Linked DNA regions of Homo sapiens: regions 1 and 2 are each linked to region 3. The links are contacts of gene promoters, found by promoter capture Hi-C in human tissues and cell types (Jung and others, 2019). All regions are on one chromosome and are shown on one strand. Each heading gives the region's core, a stretch centred on a gene start or on the middle of the fragment in contact. The rest is flanking DNA. Distances are from core to core; before and after follow the strand shown. Region 1 has its middle 7.9 kb from the start of TMC2. Region 2 overlaps ZNF343 (zinc finger protein 343). Region 3 holds the start of EBF4 (EBF family member 4).

Region 1 (4,301 bases), core at 110-2,609, 160 kb after region 3:
AAATTAGCCGGGTGGATGTGCCTGTAATCCTAGCTACTCGGGAGGCTGAGGCAGGAGAATCCCTTGAACCCGGGAGATGGAGGTTGCAGTAAGCCAAGATCACGCCATTGCACTCCAGCCTGGGCGACAGAGCGAAACTCCGTCTCAAAAAAAAAAAAAGAATTTCACTTTCACTTTTTCAGCACAGTATTAGACCAAGTGCAGGGCGCTTCTGAGTGTGGAGCCATGAGCAGCCACGCGCAGGCTGCACACTCAGGAAGCCCACCCTTCAAGACAGCCACAGCTGAGAGTTACCTGTCACTGCCTTTCTGCCAGGAACTTGCCAACCCCTTTAAATGACTTATTGAATCATCACAACAGCCATTTGAGGCAGATTGTCTTATCTTTCTTTACAGATGAAAAAATGGAGGCTTAGATGTGATGTGTCCCAGCAGTCCCTGGAGACAGGATTCAGCCCTGTTGACTGTTCTTACTCCAGAGCCCAGGCTTTTATTCCCTACACTCTTCTGACCTCTTGGGAAAAACCTGGACCACACCATATCCTCCTTTCCAAAGGTCCCCGTGTTTGCCTCCTACCTGGGCACCGGGCTGCTGGCCCTGCCCTTCAGTTTCTCTCTTGCATGGCAGCTAAGGCAGCCCCCAGAGCAGAGGTCTGACTTCATCTCCCCTCTACTTAAAACCCTTCGCTGGGACTCCATGGCCTAGGGGTAAAACCCAGACTCTCTAATGTGCCATCCAAGGCCCCGGAGAGCTCCAACACCCTCCAGCCCCCTCTGCCTCTCTCTTTCAGTGCAGCTATTCCTACCCACTGATGTGACTTGCTCTCATTCGAGGTACTAGAACTTCTCTTTGTCTTTGCTCCCACTATCCCCCCTGCCTGAGGCACAACTATGAAGACTGCTGACTTCAGGACATGTGGCAGACCCCTGGGCACACTGCCCACCCAGCATTTTACAATATGACTTGGAATGATGTTTCCTAGCAGAGCGATAACCCTAGCAAACTGCCAGGTGGGGTGTGGTGTCTGAGCAGAGCACTCCAGCCTCTGGGAAGACTCCCTCTCTGCTCTGCCCTTGGTTTTTGCCTCATCAAGATTTGCCTTTTCTTCATGGTGGTCTTGACATGTCCGTAACTGGAAACCTCTTGATTTCACACATTTGCAACTTTTAAGAAAAAAAAAAAGTGACACAAAAATGTGTTTTTAACTTTTTGTGAAATATTCCTTTTCTTTTTCTTTATTCTTCTTAACACAATACTTTAGCTAATACTATTTGAGTAACATTTATTGGACATGCAACTCAAACATTATTCTGAAAATTAATAATATCAGAGTGTTGTGCCCTAATGTTATCAGGATAGTGAATGTCCCTATTGCTGGAGCTGAGGAGGGTGAACTCTGTGCTAATTCTCTTTCATGGATGTGGCTTGCTCAGAGAAAATGAAACCCCAGGACCCAATACGACAACAACAAAAATAACATGTGCAGTCTCCACCAAAAGTCACAGGGCGTTCAAATCCAGGGGTGCTTTTGTCCCCAAAGCCCTTATTTGGGGAAGCTTCTTGGGCCATCTTGTTAATTTATCTCTCCAATTAGAAGTATATACATATATATATATAATTAGCTGTGGGTATCTGCTTACAAAACATCCAGTGTTGCTCACAGAATGTTGTAAACCGGCACAATGGAGAGGATCCAGTTACGCCAGCTAACACCCTAGCTGGATAACGTGAGCTGGCGCTATCTCAAGGATGCTGCCCTCCACCGACGAACCCACACCAATGAGCTCAGTGCTGGGGTAGTTTGTGGCACAGGGTGGGAGAGAGGCCATAGGATTCTGGACGGTAGCGGTGTGTCCCTGAAAGCTTTGGGTTGTGTAATATGAACAGTGCTTCTAAGTTTGTTTGGTCAGAGTCTTGGTTCCTTGACCTTTCTTGATCAGCACTGAAGGTGGGGCAGAAGGGTCCTGTTTTCGAGAAACTGCTGAGGTTGTCTCTGCCATCTCAGACTCTTAGGCAGGAAGTTGGACCCATCCAGGTATCTGGGACCTGAGGGCCCCCCATTACTCCAAAGGCAGGGGAGGATTACTGCCAGATATAAGCCAGACAGACTAAGAGGCACGGTCTACACAACCCACAAGGAGAACTGCAGCCAGCTGGTGACTATGGGTCATAGTTTTTTTATTCGTCTGCTTCTCCCCCACCACCCCAGGAGGCAGAGTCAGGGAAAGAAAGTAGGGAGCCTAGATTCAGGGGCTCTGTTCCTTCTGCCCATACGGGATAAGGACAACTGGAATGCTCCTCAAAGCAAAAGTGTTAAACAAAGTCAACCCCCATTTTCAGATGTCGGCTGAAATCGGACACCCCATTTTTAGGTGTCAGCTGAAATCAGATGGGTGACAAGCCCCTCTTCACCCCACACTACCATAAGCAAGTTATTGAAGCTTTCTCTGCCTCCGTTTTTTCATCTGCTGGGTGGAGGTAATTCTGCTACAACTCCTGCAAGAGCCCTTTGGGGACTGAGTGAGATAATATGACCATAACCAGAACACCCCAAAGCCCTGAAGAGTTAGGAGAGCGCTCTGTGGGATTCCTGCTCATATCACTTTACTCCCAGCCTCAGTGCCTAGGCCTGCAGTGCGTCTGGGCCCCACTTTTGCCAGGCACGAATGAGCCTGCCCCTTTCTTCTGCTCCATAATGCACCTGCTGCAAAGTTCCTTACTTCACTGCCTCACGAAGGTATGGCCACATGGTGGTAGAGATGTGGCCCTCGCCTTGTCAGCTGCCCCATCTCCAGCCTCTTCTGTATTCTCTCTATTGTACTGGGCTCTAGGGCTTCCTTTCTATTCCACAGAGCAGCACTAAGCCAGGCTATGATGTGCGATCGCTCATCACCAACCCTTTGGAGATAACCTGGTGTTGTGGTAGCAGAGCCCAGGAGAGCAAAGTCCCCAGCAGAGACAACTTAATTGCTTTAAGTTTCTCAGCCACTTTTGCCATAGGAAATACCTCCTGAACCCCTCTCCTTGGACGTTTTGAATTCTACATACTATTTGTTTCTAGAGCTCACTCCCCCTAGCAAGATTCAGCTCATCTGATATCCTAGAATGTCAGCGTATTCATGCATACAGTTTGGAGTGGAGAAGACCTCCACTGAGCCGGCGAGTCCCCCTTTTTTAAGATTGCTTGGGAACCAGCAGTCCTGTGGTTGGACCACTGCTCAGTGAGCTTTGACCTTGGCAAAGGGAGTGGGAATGGATGCAGGGAGACTTCAACTTTGAGATGCATGTGTCAGGGACAACATTGGTCTCCCTGTCACTTGGGCAAACTCTTTTAAGTCATCACTCTTCTAATCTTTGTCTTATTGTTTGGGGGCACTTGGGTATCTGCTCATATTTCATTGTGAGATGCTGAAAAGCTATGTGGAAGCATTCTGCATGTGGGCAGGCCTTGCTGATGGGTGGGCCTCACTTCAGGACAGTGTTTCTCAATCTCAGCATTAGTGATATTTTGGACCAGTTATTTCTTCGTTGTGTGAGAGCTGTCTTTTGAGTTGTAAGATGTTCAGCAGCATCCTTGGCCTCTGTGTGATAGATACCTGTAACACCCACTTGCTGCCAGGTGAGATAACCCACAGCATCTCCAGGCACTGTTAAATGTACCAGGAGAAGGTGCGGCAGGGGTGGGGGGTGTCCCTCAAGTTTGAGACCCACTGCTGTAGGGTGATGAGGCAGGGATAAGAGATTCCCACTCCCAGTGTTTATGGGCCTTTTCTTCTGGGCAGGGCAGAATTCCCAGAGAAAAATCTTCCCATTTTCCCAGAGAACACACCTTGGCTGCCAGTGTGGGAGCTGAGGAAGAGAAGGTGGCTCGGAGTGCCGCTCATCAGGAGGCGAATTTTCACCCGGTTCTCTTGTTTTCATATGGGTTCTCATCTTGCCCTTGGCTGTGTCTAAGACCCCTCAGCCCAGTGCTTTCCACCATGCCAGCATCTTAAAGAGCCAACTTTGAATCTGCTGAAGTGGGAAAACCTGAGGTCTAACTAGTCTTTTTTGTTTAAGAACAGCTTCATGGAGGTATAATGACCATACTACAAAATTTACCCTTTTAAAGTGAACAATTCTGTGTTTTTTAGTATATTCACACATCTGTCTCTGGTTTTCACAGGTGACTGTTTCATTAAGTTTTTTGAATTTGGTGCTGACTGTGATTACAGCTTACATTTTCCTTTTTGGTAATGTCAGAGGCATTTGAACCAGAGCAACTGGTTGAATAGGGGCTGGGTAAAATAAGGCTGAAACCT
Region 2 (4,773 bases), core at 2,079-4,578, 210 kb after region 3:
AAGAGCCAAGTGCAAAGAGTGTTTTTAAAAGTGAGAAATTATGAGCATATGCATATCTGTTTCTTCTTTTTTTCTTTTCCCACAAAGTAATACAGGGTTAATAAACCAGAAACTAATGAGATTGGTTAGCTGTGAGGTTATATGTGGGATTTGGCTGGAAGGCTATGGAAAGGAGAGGCATGCCCTTTCTGAATAGTTTTGCACTTTTGGAGCATGTTAGTGTTTAAATACTCAAAGAAAGGAATTAAATCAACAAAGAGAGGGAAAATCCCTACAATCGAATACAAAGAGAAACAAATTTACCTAACTGTGTTCCAAAATAATAACACGACCACAGGTAACAGGGGAAAACAACCCCGTTAACAGAGAGCTTTGACCATACTCCATAGTAAAATGAGGGTTGGCAAACTAGGGTCTACAGGCCAAATCTGTCTCACTGCCTGTTTTTGTAAATAAAGTTTTTTTGGAACAATGAATTATTTATGGCTGCTTTTGTTATACAATGGCAGAGTTAAGCAGTCATGATAGAGACCATGTCACCTACAAACCCTAAAATATTTACTCTGGTTCTTTACAGAAAAAATTGGCCAACTCCTTCTCTATTGACAAAGAAGTGCATGAACTATATGGACTATATTTTGTATATTTGTGTTTTGTAAGGATGTGGGTCCACAATTCTGAAACTATATTCCTTGCATTTTTTTTTTTTTTTAAGATGGAGTTTCGCTCTTGTTGCCCAGGCTAGAGTGCAATCGTGCAATCTCGGCTCACCACAACCTTTGCCTCCCGGGTTCAAGCAATTCTCCTGCCACAGCCTCTCGAGTAGTTGGGATTACAGGCATGTGCCACCACACCTGGCTAATTTTGTATTTTCAGTAGAGATGGGGTTTCTCCACATTGGTCAGGCTGGTCTGGAACTCCCGACCTCAGGTGATCCACCTGCCTCAGCCTCCCAGAGTACTGGCATGAGCCACTGCACCCGGCCTTATTCCTTGCATTTTAAGATTAAGCAAATGAGTAAATATATTGATGATGCAAGACAGATCTCTCAACTATATAGTTCTTTAGAAATATATACTGAATTATTATATAGCAAAGGGGCATGATAGAAAACAGAGTTCCTCAAAATGGCCTCAGTAAATCTAAATTATCTTTAGTGAAATGATGATACTTTCCTAGTAAGGCGTAGGGATTAGAATCATAGTGAGTATACATGGGGTCCCTTTAACAGGGTGTTAAGTGTAAGGAGCTTTTGGTTCCAGTGTTTGACACAAAATAGACACAAATGAGATTTCTTCTCCTACTGAAATGCTTCTCAGTGATGTAGGGTGTTACATCACTGCCGTATATATATTCAGACTGCAGTCTGAATGACTTGGTATGCTTCTAGATAATCCAAAAAGATGGCAGCGAATCACAGTCAAAATATCAAGGCAAAAAGTTCACGTCACAAAGTACCAGAATGACCACAAGTCTTATAAGAGATGACGGGTCAGAAATAGAAACAAATAATGAGTTACTTTGAGAACCCAAGTAAACCAAACAGACTCAGGGAGTGCTCAGTGACAGCAAGCAGAGCCTGACAGCTGCTGAGAGCCTCACCCATGGCAAGGCTGCCAGACAAGCAGCTTTGAGCACATACGGCTCAGTCTACACACAGCTGTGTTCCTCTGGCAGTCCAGCAGTTCCAGCACTGGTCGGTGCCTTGTCAGAGCAACCAAAGGGAAAACACATTGTCAAAAACTAAAACAAAGACCACAAAAGGTCAAAAAATCAAATGGCACAAATCATTTACTTAACAGGAAAGGAGACACAGCAGTGAAGAAATTCACTGTATAGTTTGGCAAGGGGGAAAAATAAAAGGTTTTACTGTTAGGGAGCAGTTTCATGATGGTTATGCTAATTAAGGTTTGAAAACTAGCATTCCAGATAGGATAGGATGAGTTTTTAAGGACAGATACAGTTGATTATAAAGATTCCAGTGTTCATTAGTTAGGCAGAAGTCTTCAGTTAGGCCCAGTAGGGTCTGGGGCCAAGTACGTGGTCATTTCTCAGCATCAGTTGGATAGATCATGTTGTGATGAAATGCAACATCTAGTTTTGATATTTTGTAGGCAGGTGCTGCTGTAAATGAAAAGTTTTTCTTTTTACTGATTTATGAAAAGTGGAAAGAAAGGCAGATTTTGTTGTTTTGGCTTGGTGCCAGAATCCTAAAATCATGGACCATGTCTTTCTTGTTCATTACTGAATTCATAATACTTAGTAGAGAACCTAGTACTTTGGCATTTTCTAATAAGTCTTTGTTTACAGGTGGGCAGCCTGAAATTTATATTTGTTTTATATACAATAATTTCTTTAACCAGTATTCCATACACTTTCTCCTACATTCGGAAGCCCTCCAGAATGAGGGACTTTTTATGTCTATCAGACCCTTTTTTATATAATAAGAAAAGTCATGAAGGAGATTTCCACATGTGTCATAGAGACCACTATCTCCAAGCAGAACAAAGAGCTGTGGACAGTATATACCAATGTGAATGTCTATGGCTTAGGAGAAGGCTAACTATGATTGAAGCTGTTTACAGAGCAGAATACTCACTTGAGAGGTTCCTGGTTTCTCAAGATATTTTTGTTATGGATTTTCTGGATTGCAATAGAAAATGTGATGGAATGTAAAGGAATCATTGTTCAGAAGCAAATTGTGTTATACTTATATTATCAATTATAGGCATGGCAGTAAAACATTCTCTGTCCTAAGACAAGGCAGAACAACTCAGCAGCCCTACTTATGGCTACTCTAACAGAAAACTTTCATTCTTCAGCAGAACCAAAGCCAGAAATCTACACTTGTTCCTCCTGCCTTCTGGCCTTCTCCTGTCAGCAGTTCCTCAGTCAACATGTACTTCAGATCTTCCTGGGCTTATGTGCAGAAAATCACTTCCATCCAGGGAATTCTAGCCCAGGGCATTGGAAACAGCAGGGGCAGCAGTATTCCCATGTAAGCTGTTGGTTTGAAAATGCAGAAGGTCAGGAGAGAGGAGGTGGCTCCAAACCCTGGTCTGCAAGGACAGAGGAGAGAGAAACCTCAAGGGCATTCCCCAGCCCACTCCAAAGACAGTCAGCAAGTCCTAGAAAAGGCAACATGGTGGTAGAAACAGAGCCCAGCTCAGCCCAAAGACCAAACCCTGTGCAGCTAGACAAAGGCTTGAAGGAATTAGAAACCTTGAGATTTGGAGCAATCAACTGTAGAGAGTATGAACCGGACCATAACCTGGAATCAAACTTTATTACAAACCCGAGGACCCTCTTAGGGAAGAAGCCCTACATTTGCAGTGATTGTGGGCGAAGCTTTAAAGATAGATCAACCCTCATCAGACACCATCGTATACACTCGATGGAGAAGCCTTATGTGTGCAGTGAGTGCGGGCGAGGTTTTAGCCAGAAGTCCAACCTCAGCAGACACCAGAGAACACATTCAGAAGAGAAGCCTTATTTGTGCAGGGAGTGTGGGCAAAGCTTTAGAAGTAAGTCCATCCTCAATAGACATCAGTGGACTCACTCAGAGGAGAAGCCCTATGTTTGCAGCGAGTGTGGGCGAGGCTTTAGCGAGAAGTCATCCTTCATCAGACACCAGAGGACACACTCCGGTGAGAAACCCTATGTGTGCCTGGAGTGTGGACGAAGCTTTTGTGATAAGTCAACCCTCAGAAAACACCAGAGGATACACTCAGGGGAGAAGCCTTATGTTTGCAGGGAGTGTGGGCGAGGCTTTAGCCAGAACTCAGATCTCATCAAACACCAGAGGACACACTTGGATGAGAAGCCTTATGTTTGCAGGGAGTGTGGGCGAGGCTTTTGTGACAAGTCAACCCTCATCATACACGAGCGGACGCACTCTGGAGAGAAGCCTTATGTGTGTGGTGAGTGTGGCCGAGGCTTTAGTCGGAAATCACTCCTCCTTGTCCACCAGAGGACACACTCAGGGGAGAAGCATTATGTCTGCAGGGAGTGTAGGCGAGGTTTTAGCCAGAAGTCAAATCTCATCAGACACCAGAGGACGCACTCAAATGAGAAGCCTTATATTTGCAGGGAATGTGGGCGAGGCTTTTGTGACAAGTCAACCCTCATTGTACATGAGAGGACACACTCAGGAGAGAAGCCTTACGTGTGCAGTGAGTGTGGCCGAGGCTTTAGCCGGAAATCACTCCTCCTTGTCCACCAGAGGACACACTCAGGGGAGAAGCATTATGTTTGTAGGGAGTGTGGGCGAGGCTTTAGTCATAAGTCAAATCTCATCAGACACCAGAGGACACACTGACGGGAGAAACCTGTGTATGCAGGGGTCATGAACAAGACCTGAGTGACCAGTCAAGCCTCATGTTACCCCAGAGAGACACATGGGGAGTAGACCCTGTGTACACAGATTGTGAGTGAAGTTCCAGAGATGTGTCAGCCCTTATCAGGCATGGGAGGGACACGTTCAGGAGAGGAGCCTTATGAGTATAGAGTACGGGCAACTGTAGCCATCAGTCAGCCTTGAGCATGCACAAAAGGACACACTTAGGAGAGAAGTTTATGTGTAGGGACTGTGGGAAGGCTTTAGCAATAATCAACATTTACCAGACATCCAATGACAGCCTCAGGGGAAAGCACCCTTGTCTGGGGAGTGTTGGGGAGCATCAGTAAAAGAATGGACACTCAGGCACAGAGTGGCCCTCAGGAAGGAGGTCTTTGTTTGTAGGATGTATGGGCAAAGCTTTTGTGATCACACAC
Region 3 (4,517 bases), core at 953-3,452:
TATTTTCCAATTTTTCTAGAATATAGCTATATCCCTTGTAAAAGTTTTGGAAATTAATTCATCCACAAGACCCTTTCTCTTCCGTAAGAGATCAGCTCCAGAGCCCCCCAGCGTTCCCTCCCGACAGCCAGGAAAGGACCGGCGTGCAGAAACGGCTTCAGTTTGCACATGAAGCGCGGTGTGTGTCTGTTACACGGTGAGGTTGAGGCGTCCTGCGGAGTGTGAATGTGGGCTCCTGTGTCAGGCCCGGTCTGCATTAAGCCCCCCATTCAGAATCCCTTCGGGCTGCTGCAACAGCTCAGACTTCTGGGAAGCCAAGTGCCCACCCTGTCCCAGCTGTCAGCAGAGCTGGCACCTCCCTAATCCTAACCACTGTGACTCCCCATAGGATACCTAAATGCCTCCCTCCATGGTCACAGCTGAAGGTGCAAAAAGCCAGGGGGTGCAGGGGCTTTGGGGGCAGGTCAATAAACTTTTAAAGTTCGCTTTCAAATCCTGGAGTCAACCCCCTACTGAGACTCCCAGACCCCTGCAAAGGAGTCAGAGGAGACCGGCGCGGGTGCTGGGTTCCCAGGGACTCTCTGCCTTCCAAAGGACCTACCAGAAAAACACCCGAGGGAAAGGCAGGGGCCCTGCCCAGTTCCCAGGCCAATCAGTCCAGCCAGGCCGACTGCCCACCTCATCTCTTCGCCACCGTCCAGCCCCCAGCCGCTTCTCTGGCTCTGCACACCCCCATCCGCCAACTCTGAGGGGCGTGGGAAAGGAAAAAGGGGGCTGGGTTTCGTGCCTTTCCTGACAGAGAGCTGCGGAATTGGACAAGGAGAGTCACTGGGACTGCCCAGGAAGGAGGGGCTGGACGTTCCTAGACGGCCGGTGGCTGTGGGTCATGGCTGGGAGCTCTGCCTCTTCTCTCAGAGCCATAGACAGCCCGGCTGGGGTGGCGTTCACCGCCGCACCCGCGAGCGGCCGTCAGAAATCTACCGGGGCAGCCCGGAGTGGAGGCAGAAGCCCCGCCCCAGCCCGCCCCACAGCCTCAGGAGGCAGCACAGGCACTCCGGACGGGGTGGGCCGGGGAGCTCGCCGGGACCGTCCAGAGTTAGGGCTCCTTCCGCCCCTGGCTCCAGCAGCTCCAGCAAGCTGAGCTGAGGCGGCGCGCAGCCGTCCAACCCGAGCGCACCGGGTCCGGTCCGAGCGCTTACCTCTGCGCCGCGGTGCTGGCGTCCAGGATGCCCGCGCCCTGCATCCAGGAGCGCACTGAGCCCAGGCCGGCGGGCAGCAGCGGCTCCTCCTTCAGGTTCAGCCCGCTGCGGGGCAGAGCGTCCTGCGCAGGGAACATGAGGGCGCGCGGTGAGTGAGCGCCCCCGCCGCCCCGGATCCGGTCCCGCTGAGGCTGCGGGCGTCTAGCTCAGCCCGACCCGACGGCACCAGGCGCCTCCAGCAGCGCAGCGCCGAGTCCGGGTGGCTCAGTGCGCGCTCGCCTCTTGGGCGCTCCCTCGGAGAAAGCGGGTCCGCGGGCGCCGGCGCTGTCCCCTCCCCTCCTGGGGCGCTGGGCGGGGAGATGGAGGGATTCCCCCGCGGCCTGAGCGCTGGCGGGCGGACTGCGAGCGGGGCGGGGAGGGCGGGGAGCGGAGCCCGCACCCGGTCCGCGCGGAGGCGCCCCAGAGGCGCGCTCTGGCGGCTGCCCGGGGCCGCGGTCGTCGGAGGGGGGGCCCGAGCGCCCCGGGAGCTGCCTCGGGCAAGGCGGGGGCGCGGGGCCGCCCGCCCTTTCCCCCTCGCCGCCCCCACCTCCCGCCCGCCCGCCCGCCCGCGGCGCCAGCGCGGGGCGCTGATTACCATCCGGGAGGCGGAGGCTGCGGGCGCGGAGCTCGGCGGCGGCGGCGACAGTGGCGGCAGCGGCGGCAGGAGCAGCAGCAGCCGCGCGTCCCGGGGAAAGGCTGGGGCCGCGCCGGGCCAGCAGACGCCGCCGCCGCCAGCGCCAGCGCCCCGCGTGCCCCGGCGTCCCGGCCCTGCCGTAGCCCCGGGCGGCAGCACCTGGAGCAGCAGCAGCAGCAGCCCGGCCGACTCCCCCCGGGGCCCGGTTCCCGCGCCGCCCCGCCGCGGCCGCCGCCGCCCGCCGCTCCCCGGGGCCTGGCCTCGGGCCCGGGCCATCCCGCCGCCGCCGCCGCCGCCGCCGCCGCTCCCGGGGGAGCGGTAGCCGAAGGGAGGGAGCGCAGGCGGGAGGAGGGATGTCGGGAGCGGGCGGGCCCAGGGGACGGGGGCCCGGGGGAGGCGGGGGCGGGGCGGCGCGGCCGGCCGAGGGGCGGCCGGGGACGTGACATCATCGGGGGAGGAGCGGCCGGGCCCGGGCCGCGGCGGCGGGGCGGACCCTGGCGAGTCGGTCGCCTGGGCTGGGGGCTGCGGCCTGGTCGAGGCCGCGGGAGGGAACGGAAGAGCCCGGCGGGGGCCACGGAAACCCGCGCAGGGAGGATCCGGGGCCGCGCGGCGAGGGAGCCCGGCCCGAGCGGGAGGTGCGCGCCCCGCTGCGCTCGGGAACCTCCGCGGCCTCCCCGTCGCCGCCGGACGAAGCCCCGGCGTCTTCGCGGCCTCATCTCCCTCCCCCGGCACCCGCCGTACTCTCCGCGCCCGACGCCTTGTGCCTGGACTTGCTGCTCATTTTGACGCCTCCGAGCTTTCGCTCTTGACGTCTTTCTCCCGCGTGACTGTACTCCCGCATTTCCCCGGCGACCCTGACCTCACTTTCACCCCAGCTAAGGACTGAAACGTCCCTGCCGTAGGCTGCGGCCCCAGACAAGCTGGGCGAGGTCCCTGCATCCAACCATCCCGATTCCTGATGCTGGGTTACCTAAGCCTAAAGCATTTTCAGTTTCCATCTGTGCCTTTCAGGAACCTCCTGATTTCTGATTGCGAGTTGGACAGGTAGGCTCAGAGCCCAGCTCACCTCCTGTTTCTCCCCAGCCGCGTCCCGTCTCAGATCCCATTCCTTTTTTTTTATTAGTTCCTGGCACAGAAGTCGTCTGGCCCTTGACCGTGGGGCAGAGACATTTCTGCCCCTCTCCCCACGTTGTCCTGGCCAGGCTTCGAGCAAGCCCAGACTGAGTCCAGCACTTTCCTGCAGAACAGCATGGGGGCCACCTGCCCTGCCTGCCATGTTCACGCTCAGACACCCCTGCAATAACACCTTCCTGCTCCAACTCACTCCCATCCTCTTCTGGGGGGCCTCCAAGTGTGAGTTAGCGTTCTGTCACACATTGGCCCAGATGAGGCGTCCTGGGGGCACTGCTGGTTCTCCTGCCATCACAGAGGCCCTCTCACCTCCTTTCCTGGTCTCTTTACCACCCCTTCTCTCTATGCCTCTCCCCATCACCCACAGGGGGCTGCCATTCCCACCAGGACTCCTTCAGGTCTCAGCTTTTACCCTAGGTGGGATTATCAAACATGGGTTTCTCCTTAAGACAATTCTTAAGCCAGTCTCTTTCTCCATCTCCTGATCTGCCTCTCTAAATCTTGCTTCTCACAGTGTGGTCCCCGGACCAGCAGCATTGACATCACCTGGGAGCTGGTGAGGAATCCAGACTCTTAGGCCCTGCCGGGACCTGCTGAATCGGAACCTGCAATTTACCAAGACCTGTACACACATTACATGTGAGAAGCCCCCCCAGAGCTGTTCCACACTTGCTCCACTCCTCTCCCCAACATTCAGACCCACCTCTGGCTCTCTCATTTCCAGCAGACACCCTTCCTCTTACCCAGTGGAGAGGACTCAGGGAATCTTGGCAGAACCCTGCTGGCACCATCAGCGGCGTATGCTCCTCCTCGTTTCTGTCTTTTCACCCGTTCTCTTCTCTCGGTCTTCCACTGTGGAGATGGATGTGGAACCTTTTTGCTTAGTCCTGTCTTCTGCCTTTCCTGAGATTACCCCACCGATCTCCTGTTTGTGTCTCAATATGTTCTTTTCTCTGCTCAGATCTCCCCATTCTTAAAAGAACTGTCCCCTCCTCCTCGCCTCCTTCTTCAATTTCTGCCCCTCCTGTGTCTGAGACCGTTCACAGGAACGCTCTGCCAAGGATGCCTGACTGGCCCCCAGCAAGCCACTCCTGGGGCCCTTGTGTGCTGGCTCCCTTCCAGCCCTGCCTTCCTGCTTCTGCTCTCAGACTCCGTGGTCTCTCTTGGGCTTCAGGGCCTGGGACCTCCTGGCAGCAGTGGGCTACCCCACCCCCCAACCCCACACACACGGGAAACCACCCTGGTGACCAGATATATATATATATATATATATACACATATATATATGCATGTGTATGTATTTACACACACCTGGGAAATATATATATCTGGTGTATATATATTTACACACACCTGGGAAACTGCCCTGATGACCAGAGCACACTGTCTTTCTCCTCTGCCCTCTGAGCACCTCAAGCTGCTGTGCCTGGCGCTCTTCTTCTGTTCTCCCCTCACAGAATTCACGTTCCTCCACAGTCTCAGAGAACATCTTTGAGGAAATGGTCTCCCCATAT

What was found. The method cuts DNA at HindIII sites, captures the fragments that hold promoters and counts their contacts. A contact is called where the count stands out against the background at its distance.
Region 1: a fragment that was not itself captured here is called in contact with the fragment with the promoter of EBF4 in region 3 in 1 of the 25 tissues and cell types used here (lymphoblastoid cells).
Region 2: a fragment that was not itself captured here is called in contact with the fragment with the promoter of EBF4 in region 3 in 2 of the 25 tissues and cell types used here (H1 embryonic stem cells and thymus).

The regions. Positions count from the first base shown.
Region 1 is chr20:2,526,490-2,530,790 of GRCh38, reverse strand. No RefSeq gene overlaps it. Among named protein-coding and RNA genes, the nearest start is that of TMC2, 7.9 kb to the left of the region's middle. The HindIII fragment of the contact is 5,133 bases long and covers 1-3,925 here.
Region 2 is chr20:2,482,706-2,487,478 of GRCh38, reverse strand. It overlaps ZNF343 (zinc finger protein 343), which reads left to right. Exons shown (of 6, transcript NM_024325.6): 6 at 2,823-4,773. The coding sequence ends at 4,318. Among named protein-coding and RNA genes, the nearest start is that of SNRPB, 14 kb to the right of the region's middle. The HindIII fragment of the contact is 4,668 bases long and covers 995-4,773 here.
Region 3 is chr20:2,690,465-2,694,981 of GRCh38, reverse strand. EBF4 (EBF family member 4) reads right to left here and starts at 2,202. Exons shown (of 17, transcript NM_001395167.1): 1 at 1,200-2,202. The coding sequence starts at 1,336. It overlaps LOC105372507 (a long non-coding RNA gene), which reads left to right and starts at 2,362. Exons shown (of 3, transcript XR_937210.3): 1 at 2,362-2,916; 2 at 3,518-3,642. RefSeq lists an enhancer at 47-1,031. The HindIII fragment of the contact is 20,356 bases long and covers 1-4,517 here.